Linked DNA regions of Homo sapiens: all the other regions are linked to region 1. Evidence: promoter capture Hi-C in 16 types of primary human blood cells and fetal thymus (Javierre and others, 2016). All regions are on one chromosome and are shown on one strand. The core of a region is centred on a gene start or on the middle of the fragment in contact, and the rest is flanking DNA. Distances in the headings are between cores, read along the strand shown.

Evidence for each region. The method cuts DNA at HindIII sites, captures the fragments that hold promoters and counts their contacts. A CHiCAGO score of 5 or more calls a contact.
Region 2: a fragment that was not itself captured here is called in contact with the fragment with the promoter of ZNF160 in region 1 in 1 of 17 cell types (non-activated CD4 T cells); the score reaches 5.1 in non-activated CD4 T cells.
Region 3: the fragment with the promoter of ZNF614 here is called in contact with the fragment with the promoter of ZNF160 in region 1 in 2 of 17 cell types (activated CD4 T cells and naive B cells); the score reaches 6.4 in activated CD4 T cells.
Region 4: a contact is called between a fragment that was not itself captured here and the fragment with the promoter of ZNF160 in region 1, in 1 of 17 cell types (total CD8 T cells). The highest score is 5.2, in total CD8 T cells.

What each region holds. Positions count from the first base shown.
Region 1 is chr19:53,101,768-53,105,323 of GRCh38, forward strand. It overlaps ZNF160 (zinc finger protein 160), which reads right to left and starts at 1,655. Exons shown (of 6, transcript NM_001322131.2): 1 at 1,498-1,655. RefSeq lists a silencer at 1,698-2,107. The HindIII fragment of the contact is 3,069 bases long and covers 1-2,897 here.
Region 2 is chr19:51,919,098-51,922,653 of GRCh38, forward strand. No RefSeq gene overlaps it. Among named protein-coding and RNA genes, the nearest start is that of ZNF613, 6.6 kb to the right of the region's middle. The HindIII fragment of the contact is 3,557 bases long and covers 1-3,508 here.
Region 3 is chr19:52,026,625-52,030,180 of GRCh38, forward strand. It overlaps ZNF614 (zinc finger protein 614), which reads right to left and starts at 1,755. Exons shown (of 5, transcript NM_025040.4): 1 at 1,618-1,755. It overlaps LOC112268244 (a long non-coding RNA gene), which reads left to right. Exons shown (of 2, transcript XR_002958414.2): 2 at 488-3,156. RefSeq lists enhancers at 242-1,012, 1,483-2,242. The HindIII fragment of the contact is 7,426 bases long and covers 1-3,556 here.
Region 4 is chr19:52,093,928-52,097,483 of GRCh38, forward strand. It overlaps ZNF841 (zinc finger protein 841), which reads right to left and starts at 1,838. Exons shown (of 7, transcript NM_001136499.2): 1 at 1,648-1,838; 2 at 1-44. The HindIII fragment of the contact is 4,438 bases long and covers 1-3,556 here.

The sequences.
Region 1 (3,556 bases), core at 405-2,904:
CTAAACAGCATGGGCAAATGAAAGCTAGCCTCTTATGCCATAATTGTAAAATGCACAAGCCTTTTACACAGAGCTTTGTAATTCTCATCCTTATATGTAGAATTTAAACAATTAGATTACAATTTAAATGTAACACATTATAAATAGAGAAATCAAATTGTCATATCCAATCTCAACTCACCTCTCACCTGGCCCCAGGGCGCCCCTCTTTCTTTATAACTATGTGTTCCTCTCCCCCATTTTGTGCCTCTCACTTTCACCTTGTCTCTCCAGCCTTTTTCCCCTTTTATCTTCCCCCTAGGATTCTGACGATGTTGTGCCTCTTTTTTCTTCTGCTGTTTCTCCCTTCTTTGTTTTTTCCCCTTATATCTGTTCTACTCCATTCTTCCAATTTGTTTCACCTCTTGTGGCGTTTTCTTTCCAATCTTTTCATCGTCCCAATCTCCATCTATTTCTGCCTCTTTCTTACCCCATCTCCGCGCCTCCTCTGCTCTCCCTGTTAAATCCCCTCTTCCCTGTTACACCCGCTTATCCCCACTCTCTGGCACTCCCAGATCCCAGGCCTCCCTGTGTTGTGGTGCTCCCTCTGCTCGCCTTGTCACCAGCTGTCCCCTCCAGCTGTCCCAGCACCACGCAGCTCTGTCTGCCCTCGGCCAAATCCTTTCTCCTCTCCCCCACTCTCTGTCTGAGGAGGCTCCTTCTTTGCTGTCCCTCTCCTTATCTTGTTGTCCTGCATCTCGGGACATCGAGCTTTTCTCTACATTTCGCCAATTGCTTTTCTGCCCCTGCTACTTTCTTGACTGCTTCTTTCACTCTGTCGCTGCAAATCTCTCACCCATCCTCCACTTTGCCATCTGTTTATGGGTCTCCCTCATTTTTCTTTTCTCTTTCTTGGTTTTTCCATCTCCTCTCAGTGGCTCTTTGTCTCTCTTTCTCCTGATTCCCTTGGGCCACACATTCACTGGAGGGTTTGTAGTAAGATGTCTGCATGTTGGAGGAGTACATTTTCCAGGGGGTGGAGCTGGGCAGGCAAAAACACCGGGTGTCACAGGACGGGCCCCGGGCACCTCCCCAACGAGGGCTCAAGGGAAGCGGTGACTGCGAAGGGGAGGCCTGGGGAGCAGCAGGGCCCGGCACGAGGAGGAGGGAGGTGGGGGGCGACGGCGCCTTAGGACAGGGGTGGGATGTGCAGGATCCCAGGACCAGGCGGAGGCGCGGCCTCCCCGGGACTGGGTCGGCGGCGCTGCGCTCCAGGGGCCGACGAGAGCGAGGCTGGGAGGCGCCCAGGGCAGGCGGTGAGGACTTTAAGCGATGCGGGGCGGGAGGAGGAGTCAGTAAAGGATTTTAAGCAGGAAAATCCTGCTTAAACGTTTAAAAAACCGGGAAAGGCCGTGTTTACTTGGCCCAAGGCAGAAAGACCGGGGGCAGGGACCAGCCTCAGGGCGACTTTAACCCAAAAGGAAGCGTCTCCGGGCCCACACAGCAAGGCCTATTTACCTGAGGTGGAGGGTGCGGTGCGGAGATTTTAAGTCCGTAGCGACCCCCGGGCATCGGGTGTGCGAATGGGGGACGGCGAGGCGCAGGTTGAGTCTACACAGAGGAACACTCATACGCCATGGTGTGATGCTTGCTCCGCACGATCCACTTCCGGGTCTGTGGGCAACTGCGCGAAGGAAAGCGACCGAGCGGCCCGGGGCGGGGTCCGAGATGGGCGGAACCGGAAAAGGGCGGGGCGTTGAGAGAGCCGGGCTGAAGCAGGGGCCGCCAGGCAGGGACCCCAGGGAAGGAACGGGGAGGAGCCACCGGGGAGGGGTGGGGAGTGACCAAGTGGAGGGACCCGGGGGCGGGCCGGGGAGGAGCCGCCGGGGAAGGGCGGGGAGGAACCGCGGGAAGGGACCGCGGGGGAGGAAGGCGAAGGGACCGCGGGGGAGGGAGGCAGAGGGACCGCCAGGAAGGGACCCGGGGGAGAGGCGGGGCTGGACGGGACACGTTAGGGTCTGCGATTTCGTGTGATGCCCACAGCCCAGCGCCCAGAGCCATCTGTAGTGTCTTGTGGAACGGCGTAGATGTTTCAAACGGTTTCAAGTTAAAAGCACAGTTGTGTAGGTTATTTTGGAAACCAAACTGCTTTCCTCTTAGAATGGAGGCGGTTTATGTTGAAAGCATTTTTTGCTAGCGCGTTTACCCAGTAATGTTATTGACGCTGAAGCAGCCCAGGAGTCTGGGAACATGGGTTGACACGGAGCGGTGATGGCATGCTGGAAAAGTTTCTGCGATTAAAATTAAGTAATTTAAAAGCCCTGAAATTAGCAGTAACTTTTAAAAAATAGATATAAATTGCATTGTCCTTTTTTATACTTACTATTCTATTCCGTGCGAGATGACAACCTCAAACGCCTATACTTTTTTTTTTTTTTTTTGAGCCGGAGTCACGCTCTGTCGTCCAGGCTGGGGTGCAGTGGCATGATCTCTGCTCACTGCAACCTCGGCCTCCCGGGTTCAAGCAATGCTCCTGCCTCAGCCTCCCGAGTAGCTAGGATTACAGGCGCCCGCCACCACGTTCTTTAGCGGAGATGAAGTTTCACCATGTTGCCTAGGCTGGTCTCGAATTCCTGACCTCAAGTGATCCACCCGCCTCAGCCTCCCAAAGTGCTGGGATTACAGGCGTGAGCCACCATACCTGGCCCCAGGAACTACTTTCACCTACTGAATATATATTAAGTCCTTTGCCACAAAAAGATAATATACATAATTTATCTCAGAACAATTAAGATATTTACCACTGTAAATGACAAATTCAGACTTAGAGAAGGAAGATTTTATTCAAAAGGACTATTGCAATAGAGAGAATGTTCCAATCACAAGATCTGAAAATGTCCAAGAGACACAAACTAAAAAGCTTTTTTTTCTTTTTTTCATATATGGAGGAGTAAACAAGGCTAGAAAGCACAAGCACAAGTTATGAGGCTGTGGATGAGCACTTGGCATGACTACAGTTATTCAGGGAAAGTTTGTTATGTTATGTTATGTTATGTTAAAAATGTTACATATTTCTTGGAGAGAGTCTTGCTCTGTCACCCAGGCTGGAGTGCAGTGGCGTCATCTCTGCTCACTGCAACTTTTCATCTACCAGGCTCAGGCAATCCTCCCACCTCAATCTCCCCAGTAGCTGGGACTACAAGCACACGTCACCATGCCTAGTTAATTTTTGTACTTTTTGTAGAGACGGGGTTTCGCCATGTTGCTCAGGCTAGACTCGAACTCCTGAGCTCGAGGGATCCCCCACACCTTGGCCTCCCAAAGTGCTGGGATCACAGGCGTGAGCCACCGTGCCCGGTCTATTTATTTTTTGAGAGAGCATCTTGCTCTGTTGCCCAGGCTAGAGTGCAGTGTCAAGACCATAGCTCACTGCAGCCTTCAACTCTGGAATCAAGTGATCCTCCTACCTCAGTCTCCCAAGTGGCTGGGACTACGGGTTTGCACCGCCACACTCCACTAATTTTTTTACTTTTTGCAAAGGCGGATTCTCACTATGTTGCCCAGGCAAGTCTTGAAC
Region 2 (3,556 bases), core at 480-2,979, 1.2 Mb before region 1:
GGCTTTGAACAGAGAGCTAACACTGCATTCTTGGGTGTGAAGAGATTATGAAGGGAAACTCTAAGACTCTGTCAACATAACTTGGAACTGTTTACTAATCAATGTAAATAGGAGTTTCTCTACCTCAGCACTACAGGTTGAGCATCCCTGCTTCAAAATTCTGAAACCTATAATGCTCCAAAATCTGAAATTCTTTTTAGGGCTGAGGTGATGCACAAAGGTCATGCTTGAAGGAAATGCTTACCAGGACATTTCAAATGTTGGATTTTCAGATTAGGGATGCTCAACTAGTAAGTATAAGTAAGTAAGTAAGCAAGCATTCTGAAAAAAAAAAAAATCTAAAATCTGAAACACTTCCAGTCCCAAGCATTTCTGATAGGGGATGCTCAATCTGCATTTGTTGGAGGCCGAGAAAATGGGGGTTGTGACCAACCCAGTATACCACTGGAGGCTATATGAGCAAACAGAAAACTGTTCTCATGAAAGCAGGATGTTGGAAAACTGACAAATTGCATCTGCCACCAGAAGGAGTGCCAAGAGCAGTCACACCCCAGGCAGAGTGTTCCTTGTGGTTTGTAGGGAGCCAAAGGCCCATGGGACATGATCAGCTCAGCATTCCACTGGAAGCTACATGATCAAACAGCAAACTGTTTATCACAAATGCAGGATATGGGCAAACTCACGACTGTGCCTGCTGACAGAAAGTTTGCTGGCGGCTATCATTCCCTGGCGCTGAGGTTATCTGCTGGGACATCTAGAGCCTGTTGTTTGAGGAATGCAATCTTGCAAGCCTACTCTGGACCAACCAACTGACCCCTTCTTCCACACCCCTTCTCACTATCCCTTTTGCCTAATAAATACAAAGGGCTGTGTAAAGCTCAGAGCCTTTGTCCACTAGAGGCAAGGTGCTCCTTGACCCCTTCTTCCAAATATACTCTTTTGTCTCGTCTTTTATTCCCGCATTTGCCCCACTTTGTTCAGCCCACCAGGGATTGTGGCAGGTTACATAGTGGCCCCCCCCAAACAGTGACAGAATCGAGTGCTCCACAGTGGTTATCTATAGGAACATCTGAAGCCTGTTGTATAAAGAAAGTAATTATGTGTACCTCTAATGAATCAAAGCAGCTGACCAACCGTTACCTCTCTCTCCCTATTGATTCTACCTAATACATATGAAGGGCTGTAGAAGCTGAGGGCTGTCTTTGCTCACTAGAAGCAAGGAGTCCCCTGACCCCTTCTTTTAAAATGTATCTTTTTGTCTTTGTCTTCACTTCTGCATTTGTCCCATTTCGTTCAATCCCATAGGAACAGACTGTAACAGGCATTGACATTTTGGTTTGGAGAATTCTTTATTTTGGGGCACTGTAGTGTCATTGTAGGATGCTTAGCAGCATTCTTAGCCTCTATCCACTAGCTCCAATTAGCACACCCTCCTTTCCCAGGTGTGACAATCAAAAATTTCTCCAGACATTGCCAAATGTCACCTGGGGTCAAAAAATGAAAACCACTGATAAAAAAAAAAGCAGAATATTGAGGACTCTTTGTGGAAGACCATATGATGGTCATAGAATCCATCCATCTTAAAAATCTCTACATTTTATCCCTGAATAAAAACAGACCCCCAGGAGGCTGTGGACTTTGGCTACACTGTTCTGGGTCCCTGAAGCACTCTGATCACTGAGTTTGGTTTTGGTATTACACCACTGGCTTATCTGTGGGGGCACTAACTTCTATATGATCTATATCATGACCCATCAAAGAAATTTCTTCTTAAGTAACATGAAATATTCACTTTTCTAGAGGAGCTTTCTCCTCAGGGAAAAGGAAACGATTTGTTATTGTGTCCATGTGGTAGACTGCATTTCCCAAAGATGACCACAATAATATCTCACATTCCAAAGAAAACCTTCTGCTAAATCTTGCCACTCCCACACGAAGAGATGGAGCCTATTCCCTTCCCCCTTGAACCTAGCTAGTCTTGGTGATTTGCTTGTACCTGCAGAATACAACAGAGGTGACACAACATAACTTCCGAGGCTAAGGCAGAAAAGCATGGGGGAAAGAATGAGAGATCAGACTATTACTGCATCTATGTAGAAAAAGGAAGACAAAAGAAACTCCATTTTGATCTGTACTAAGAGAAATTATTCTGCCTTGAGATGCTGTTAATCTGTAACCCTAGCCCCAACCCTATGCTTGCAGAAACATGTATTGTATTGACTCAAGGTTTAATGGACTTAGGGCTGTGCAGGATGTGCCTTGGTAAAAATGTGTTTGCAGGCAGTATGCTTGGTAAAAGTCATGGCCATTCTCCAGTCTCGAGTACCCAGGGACACAATGCACTGCAGAAAGCCACAGGGATCTCTGCCCAAGAAAGCCTGTGTATTGTCCAAGGTTTCTCTCCACTGAGACAGCCTGAGATATGGCCTCATGGAAAGAGAAAGACCAGACTGTCCCCCAGCCTGACACCCATAAAGGGTCTGTGCTGAGGAGGATTAGTGAAAGAGGAAGACCTCTTTGCAGTTGAGATAAGAGGAAGGTATCTCTCTCCTGCTCATCCCTGGGAATGGAATGTGTCAGTGTAAAACCCGATCGTACATTCTATTTACTGAGATAGGAGAAAACTGCCTTATGGCTGGAGGTGAGACATGGTGGGGGCAATACTGTCTTTACTTCACTGAGATGTTTGTGTAAAGTCAAAGATAAATCTGGCCTATGTGCATATCAAGGCACAGCACCTTTCCTTAAACTTATTTATAACACAGAGTCCTTTGCTCACGTTTTCCTGCTGACCCTCTTCCCACCATTACCCTATAGTCCTCCCACATCCCCCTCACCGAGATAGTAGAGATAGTAATCAATAAATACTGAGGGAACTCAGAGACCAGTGTTGGTGCGGGTCCTCCGTATGTTGAGTGCCGGTTCCCTGGGCCCACTTTTCTTCCTCGATAGTTTGTCTCTGTGTCTTATTTCTTTTCTCAGTCTCTCGTCTCCACCTTGTGAGAAATACCCACAGGTGTGGAGGGGCAGGCCTCCTTCATCTGGCACCCAACATGGGGCACGAACCCATGACCCTGAGATTAAGAGTCTCATGCTCTACCGACTGAGCTAGCTGCAGAATGCAACAGAGGTGACACAACATAACTTCTGAGGCTAAGGCAGAAAAGGCCCTGTGGCCGCATCTTGGCTGTCTCAGAGCCAGCATCATGCTGTGAGAAGCCCATCCATGTCACATGTGGAGGTCACACACAGGTGCTCTGGCTGGCAGCCTCCTTGAGCCTAGTTTTCAAGTAATCCCAGCCTGGCACACAGATACAGAGAGGAAGAAGCCTTCAGATGATTCCAGTCCCCAACCTTCTGAGTCTTCCAGTTGAGATTCAAGACATCATGGTGTGAAGACAAGCTGTGCAGTAAAGGATAAACAGAGCGAGTCTGGGTTACCCAGAAACTGAACATTCCAAAGAAAGGCTCAGCCCTTCCCTATACCTGGCAGGTAACTTCTAAACCAAGCTTGTCCAACCTGCGGACCATGGGGTGCACATGGCCCAGGAGGGCT
Region 3 (3,556 bases), core at 505-3,004, 1.1 Mb before region 1:
CTGTAAAGGGTCTCTGCTGAGGAGGATCAGTAAAAGAGGAAGGCCTCTTTGCGGTTGAGATAAGAGAAAGGCATCTGTCTCCTCCTCGTCCCTGGGAATGGAATGTCTCCGTGTAAAACCCCATTGTCTGTTCTATTTACTGAGATAGGAGAAAACCGCCTTAGGGCTGGAGGTGAGACATGCTGGTGGCAATACTGCTCTTTATTGTACCGAAATGTTTGTGTGCGTGCACATCAAGGCACAGCACGTTTCCTTAAACTTATTTATGACACAGAGACCTTTGTTCACATGTTTTCCTGCTGACCCTCTCCCCACTATTACCTTATTGTCCTGCCACATCCCCCTCTCCGAGGTGGTAGAGATAGTGATCAATAAATACTGAGGGAACTCAGAGACCAGTGCCAGCGTGGGTCCTCCGTATGCTGAGTGCTGGTCTCCTGGGCCCACTTTTCTTTCTCTATACTTTGTCTCTTATTTCTTTTCTCAGTCTCTCATCCCACCTGACAAGAAACACCCACAGGTTGTGGAGGGGTGGCCCCCTTCAAGGTGAATTCTCAGACAGATCAATTTTAGGAAAGAGAACACATGGAAGGCTCCAAGAATGTCTTTAAAAACCACGTGTGCCCATGTACTGGTTCGAAAGTCTCTGTAAGCTCTTTGGGTATACATACCTCGTGTCAAGACCAATGTACTAAGCAAATCACAAGAACTGTCTCATTTCACATTATGCGCTAAAGGAGTAACTTTACCCAAGAGAGCTTTGTCCTTTGCCCACAGTTCCTATGAGGCAAACTCTAAGCCTTTGGAATACGCTGCTTGATAAAACTGTCTTTGGTTATCAGGGCAATTTAAGCCATGCCAAATTGTCTATCCTAATAATGTGATTTACTGTGGGAGACCTTGGACCACGTGGTATTAGTTTGATATCTGGAGGAGCTGGAGATTGAAGTCAGCCTCATAGGCAGTCAATTGTGTGTGTGTGTGTTAACTGATATCCAATAAAACTCTGGACACCAAGGCCTAGGTGAGTGGCAACAATGGTTACAATGGCTGGCAATAATAATATAAGGGTGTATATATAAGAATATGATAATTTAAAAACGTATGAAGCAAAACAGAATGAGAGAGGATTAGACAATTCAACAATAATAATTGAAGACTACATTACCCTACTTGCAATAATAAAGAAAACAAATAGAAACTCAGCAAGGATACCGAAAACTTGAACAACATTATCAACCAACTAGACTTAACGAACATTTAACACTGCACTCAACAGCAGTAAAATAAACATTTTTTTCAAGAGCACATGTTATATTCTTCAGGAAAGATAATATCCCATGTGATAGCCTGAGATAGGGCCTCATGGGAAGGGAAAGACCTGACCGTCCCCCAGCCCAACACCCGTAAAGGGTGACTCACAAGGGCCCCAGACCCAGACAGAGTCGGACTCGTCGCTGATTTCCTCAGACTCTTCATCCCTACAGCCAAAGGACCCGTCATTAACGCCCCGCTTCCTCAGCGACTGCGTTCAAATACAGCCCCAATCAGGACGCTCCACGCACCATCGGTACACAGACCCACAGGCCGCGAGTCCATGCCCAGAACTCGACTCACCCGAGCCCGAACCTCTCCAGACACCACTGGCAGCGACAAAACGCCGCATCCACGTCCGAAAACGCTTCCTATTCAGACGCGCTCCTGCGCGGACTCCGGGAAGCTGAGCGGTAAAGACCGTGAAGCGAGGCGAGGACCACGGAGCCTGCCCGGGATCGCGAGTTCAGACTGCGGGCGCCGCTCTATGAGGTCACAGGGCTGCGCCCATCGCAGCGTTTCTGACAGGAGCGGCCATAATGGCTGTGGGAATCACTCTTAGTCACCTCAGTGCCTTTCTCTCTTCGTTGCAAGGGACACTCAAGAGTCGGGTGCCCAGCCAAGGCCAACACGGCGCAGTGGCATTCTATTCAGCCTGCTGTGGAAAAAAGATGGCGGCGCCCTTTGTGCCCATTATAGCTGAGAGTGGAGCCTTAGCTGGAGCACCATGGGCACGGCCATCTTAGAGGAAGGCAGCAGCCGTACGGCAGAGAAGATGCTCATATCCAGGACAATTTGGAAAAATAAACAAGGTTTGAAGAAGTCACGGTGCTGGCCAGGAAGCGGTCACAGAGTTGCCAAAACCAGTGGTCACTGAAAGTGTTAGATTTGGGGATAGGGCGGGGGTTCTGGGCTGGGTAAGGCTTTTGTGGGTTAGATTAGACTCTGACTGAATGGACGAAGCCGAGAACAGGAGTGATGCTCCATTAAATGCTAATACCCACATGGGGCTTGCTATTAAAACCACTGCCAGTGGGGAAGGGGATGAGGAGGTGAAGGTGCAACTGTGTTAATATCTACATGTTTCCTTCCAGAAGTAAAGGAAGATGACAGTGGGGCACTTAAGAATATGAAATTATTAGAATGCGATCATCCTACTTTGCAATGTTTCCAGATTTTTTAAAAAGTCACACTTAAAAAATATTAGTTCTATTTTTGCAGATGTTGGCGTTGTAACTGTAGAAGATTTAAGTAAATATTGTATTTTTGGAAGGCAACCTAGAGCCAATTTAATTTTTTCGTTTTCTTTGACACAGCAATTCTAAAAGCTATCTAGGCAAATCTGTCTTAATATTAACCACAACTTTTGTAATTTACAAAAAAAGGGAATTACAATGAGAGATGAATACTTTGGTAAATTATGGAACATCTGCTGAACTGTAAGAGTATATATCAATTTAAAAGAATATGCTACAATTGTTTTATAAAAAAGAAAACTTTGTCAGAGGACAAAAAAATGATCTGCAGGATAGTATATATTTTATGGTCTTGTTATTGGAAGAAATCATAAACATCTTTTGGAAAATTGTGATTGGTTAAACAAGACATTTAGTTTGAATTAATATTGTTTGTGTTCATAGGTAGAGAATGCCATGTTTTTACTTGAAAAATATTCCCAATTTATACTTAATTTTACTATCTTTGTACCATAATCATGAATATATTATAAAACATGTTGATCTTAGAAAATAGGTATGATGATGTATAATAAGTTCATGGCATGATAAATGCAAAATAGGCTGTTTTCTTTCAGAAAATAAATATGCTCATGCATTTGAAAAATTCTGGAGAATATACTAACAATATTTGACTGTTCCGTACAATTATGGTGACTTAAAATTTCTTCATTTTACTTACGTTTTGTAATTTCTAGAGAATAAGAATTTCATGTTCGTATTTCTTGAGTGTTATAACATATTCCATCCAGGATTAAATTTCAGCCCCGTTCATCTGGAATGTTAATCTCTGGTAGGTAAGTTTAGCACCTGGTCCACAGGACTATGAGCAGCCCATGATGGGACCTTCACTGATCATTTCCAGGAGTGGGCTGATAAAACTTTGCCGTGGCAGGCTGTGCTGATTCACGGGACAAGGAAGGTGATTCAAGGGCCTGGTTGGTGGAGCACTTTTGTCTGATTCATTGCTGGAGACAATCTGCCCTGAATCCATCCTGTTACAGTGT
Region 4 (3,556 bases), core at 787-3,286, 1.0 Mb before region 1:
AGTAGAAGCTGCAGTGAGCCGAGATCATGCCACTGCTCTCCAGCCTAGGCGGCAGAGAGAGACCATGTCCCCCCCCAAAACAAAACAGAACAAAGCCAAAAAAAACACCAAAGACATATCTTGTAGTGACAGTCAGTCATTTCTTGCCCCATTTCTCCCCTCCTTTATGCTCTACTCCATCATTGGGAAGAAGAGAGTTACCACAAATAACTGGATCAAGTCACTGCCCTCTGGCTAAATAGGAATTCCAAATATCTTTTGATACAAATACATACAAAATGCACAAGGCTTATAGAAAAAACTTTGGTGATTTTCATCCTCATGAGTACAACTTAAACATATTTCAAATCAGAGTATAAAGCCACAAATCAATATATTACAACCACCATCCATATCCAATCAACTGTCACGCATCTGGATGGGGTCCTCTCCCGCTTTCTTCACGGCTATGTGTTTCCCTCTCTCATTCTGAGCGTCTTTTTTTTCTCCTTTTCTGTTTTGCACCCCTTTCTTTATTCCCTCTTTTATGTCTGTTCTGCCCAATGCTCTGCAACTTACTTCACCTCTCGTAGCTCTTTCTCCCCAATCTTTCCGATTGTCCCCAATCTCCACGTATTTCTGCCTCTTTTCCCCCATCTAAGCTCCCTCTCTGCTCTCCTTGTTAAATTCCCTCTTCCCTGTTACATCTCCTTTGTTCCCACTCTCTAGCACCCCCAATTTCCTAGGCTTACTCCCTGCTGTGGTTCTCCCTCTACTCTGCTTGTCACCCACTGCCCTCTCTCCCTCTCTTTCAGTCCCAGCACCACGTAGCTCTGTCAGCCGCGGCTCCAACTCTTTCACCTTCTCCCCACTGTCTGTCTGTCTGCAGTGCCTCCTCCTTTGCCGCCCCACTCTATTTTGCTGCCCTTCATCTCTCTGAAGGTCCCCTTTTTTTCTAAATTTCTCTGTGTGCTTTTCTCCCCCTGCTACTTTTTCCATCCGTTCTCTTTCACTCTTGCTCTCTTTGCAAGTCCCTAAAGTATCATCCATTTTGCCGTGTATTTATGGGTCTCCCTCATTCTTTTCTCCTCAGTTTTTCCTTTTGCTCCGTCGTTCCCCGTCTTTTCCTCTCCTGATCCCTCTCACCCACACATTCGGGAGGAAAGGGGAGGAATAGGATGCCCACCTCCCGGAAGAGCACATTTTCCAGTGGAGTAAAATTTGGGAAGGAAGAACACTGGGTGTCACAAGACAGACTCAGGTAACCTGTCCCAACGGGGAGTCAAGAAAAGCAGTGGCTGTGAAGGGGAAGCCTGGGGAGCGGAAGGACCCGGCGTGAGGACGACACGAGGTGGCGCGGAGAACGATGTCTCACGACAGGGAGGGTCTGCAGAATCCCAGGACGTGGGAGGAGAAGCGGCTCCTTCAGGAGCCGGACAGTGGGCGCTCCCCTCCAGGGGCAGACGACGGAGGAGCTCGGGGATCGCGAAGGGCGCTAGTCCACATCCCGAATGAGGACTCGACTTGGCGCGGGGCCCAAGCAGAGGGTTTTAAGCGGGAACACTACCTGAATGGGGTTGTCTACATGGTCCTAAGGAAGAAAGGCAGAGAGCAAGGAACGGCCTCAGAGAGATTTTAAACCGAAAGGGAAGCAATTCTCCTACTTACTTGGGACGAAGGGGCTGTTGCGGGTATTTTAAGGTCCGTAGCGATCCCCAGGTCACGGGTATGGAGAACCGAGGACTGCGAAGTGCACGTTTAATCAAGGTAGACGAAGAGAAGCAAACGTTTAATCCAGGTAGACTGAAACACACTCATAGCGACGTGGCCTTTCCCCAGCGCGATCTGCTTCCGGGTGTGCAGGAAACTGGGCGCGGAAAGAAAAACTGGGCGGCCTGGGGGCGGGGCCTAGGCGGGGCGCGACTAGGAAAGGGCTGGGCGGAAAGACTGGCCTGACTTGGGAGTGGCCCGAAAGGGTGGTGGGAGGCCCAGGGCGGTAGGGGGCGTGACTAGGTGGGGCTTGGCTGGACCGAAAACTGGGATGAAGCGGGGCCTCCAGGGGTGGGCGGGGCCGAGGCGGGGCCTGTTCTCCACTCCGCCTCTCACCCAGCAGGATTTTGTTTTCCAGGTTTGGGAGTATTTGTGACTATTTCTTGTCCTGTGAAGCAGCGTTGCTCCTTGCCCATTTTAAATTAATGTTTCAGAATTTAAGGTTGAATCTTAAAGTTGTGGTCCACTTATACTGGAAACTAAGATGATTTATTCTTAACAAGTTGAACTGATTTAAGTCAAAACCGATTTTTCCGAGCCTGGTGGACTCCATCCAGTCTTACCAGAAAAGCTGAAGCTACTCAGTAGTCAGGGAACTGGGATCTCGGTGGGGATTGGATGTGGAGCAGTGACTGGATCCAGGAACCCAGAAGACATTATGCCAAGCGAAATGTGCTAGACACAGTGTAGAAAATGAAATAAGTAGAGGTTCCTCTTCAAAGGGACTTTCCTCCCAGTCTAATTGAGAATAGATAGTAACCTCTCTTAGAAGCAAAATTTACTCAAAGACCTGTGCTAATATTCTTAAATATCTGCTAGCCATAATAGATAAATCAATATACTCTGTGTTCTTAGCTCCCACATTTTAGCCTAGATATTTGCCCTGGCATGCCTGAATTGTTCCAAGCAAGCATTAGGTCACAGCCTATTCCTCTTCCTTATTTGGAAGTGTTTTTGCCTCTCTCAGCCTTCCACAAGTTACTTCCTCTCTTCCTTTGTTCTCCTCTGCCTTTGCCTCTTTTGGGAAGTTCTAAGGTGCTAGCCAATCAGGTCAAGCACAGAATTGGGTCCGATTCCAGCCAATGGAAACCAGACACAGCAGTAGGGTGGACGCGTCAGGTTATTATTATTATTATTTTTTTTGAGACGGAGTCTCGTTCTTTCGCCCAGGCCGGAGTGCAGTGGCGCTATCTCGGCTCACTGCAAGCTCTGCCTCCTGGGTTCACGCCATTCTCCTGCCTCAGCCTCCCGAGTAGCTGGGACTAGAGGCACCTGCCACTGCGCCCAGCTAATTTTTTGTATTTTTAGTAGAGACGGGGTTTCACTGCGTTAGCCAGGATGGTCTCGATCTCCTGACCTCGTGATCCGCCCACCTCGGCCTCCCAAAGTGCTGGGATTACAGGCATGAGCCACCGCGCCCGGCCAGATGCGTCAGGTTATAAATGACCCTTCTCTTTTGTTCATGTGTACTCTCGTGGCAAGACTGCTAGTGAGCAGCACCCTTTCTGCAGAAAGTAAACTAGCCTTGCTGAGAGATCCTTTGTCTCAGTGTTGATTTTTGCGACACTGAGCACCCGTTCCCAACACACACAAAGAAACATACTTCATGCACTTACTTACACGTGCTAAGTACAAACATCAAATTCAGAGTAACAAAGTAGAAGGGTGGTTTCCAGGGCTGAGGGTGTTTCCTATGCCTGTCCCACCATTGTATTTTGGAAGCAGATAACTTCTCTGGCTTCACAGATTCACAGCTGGGCAGAAACTTTGCCTCAGGATGAACCACACCTTGTGTCTCACCCATATG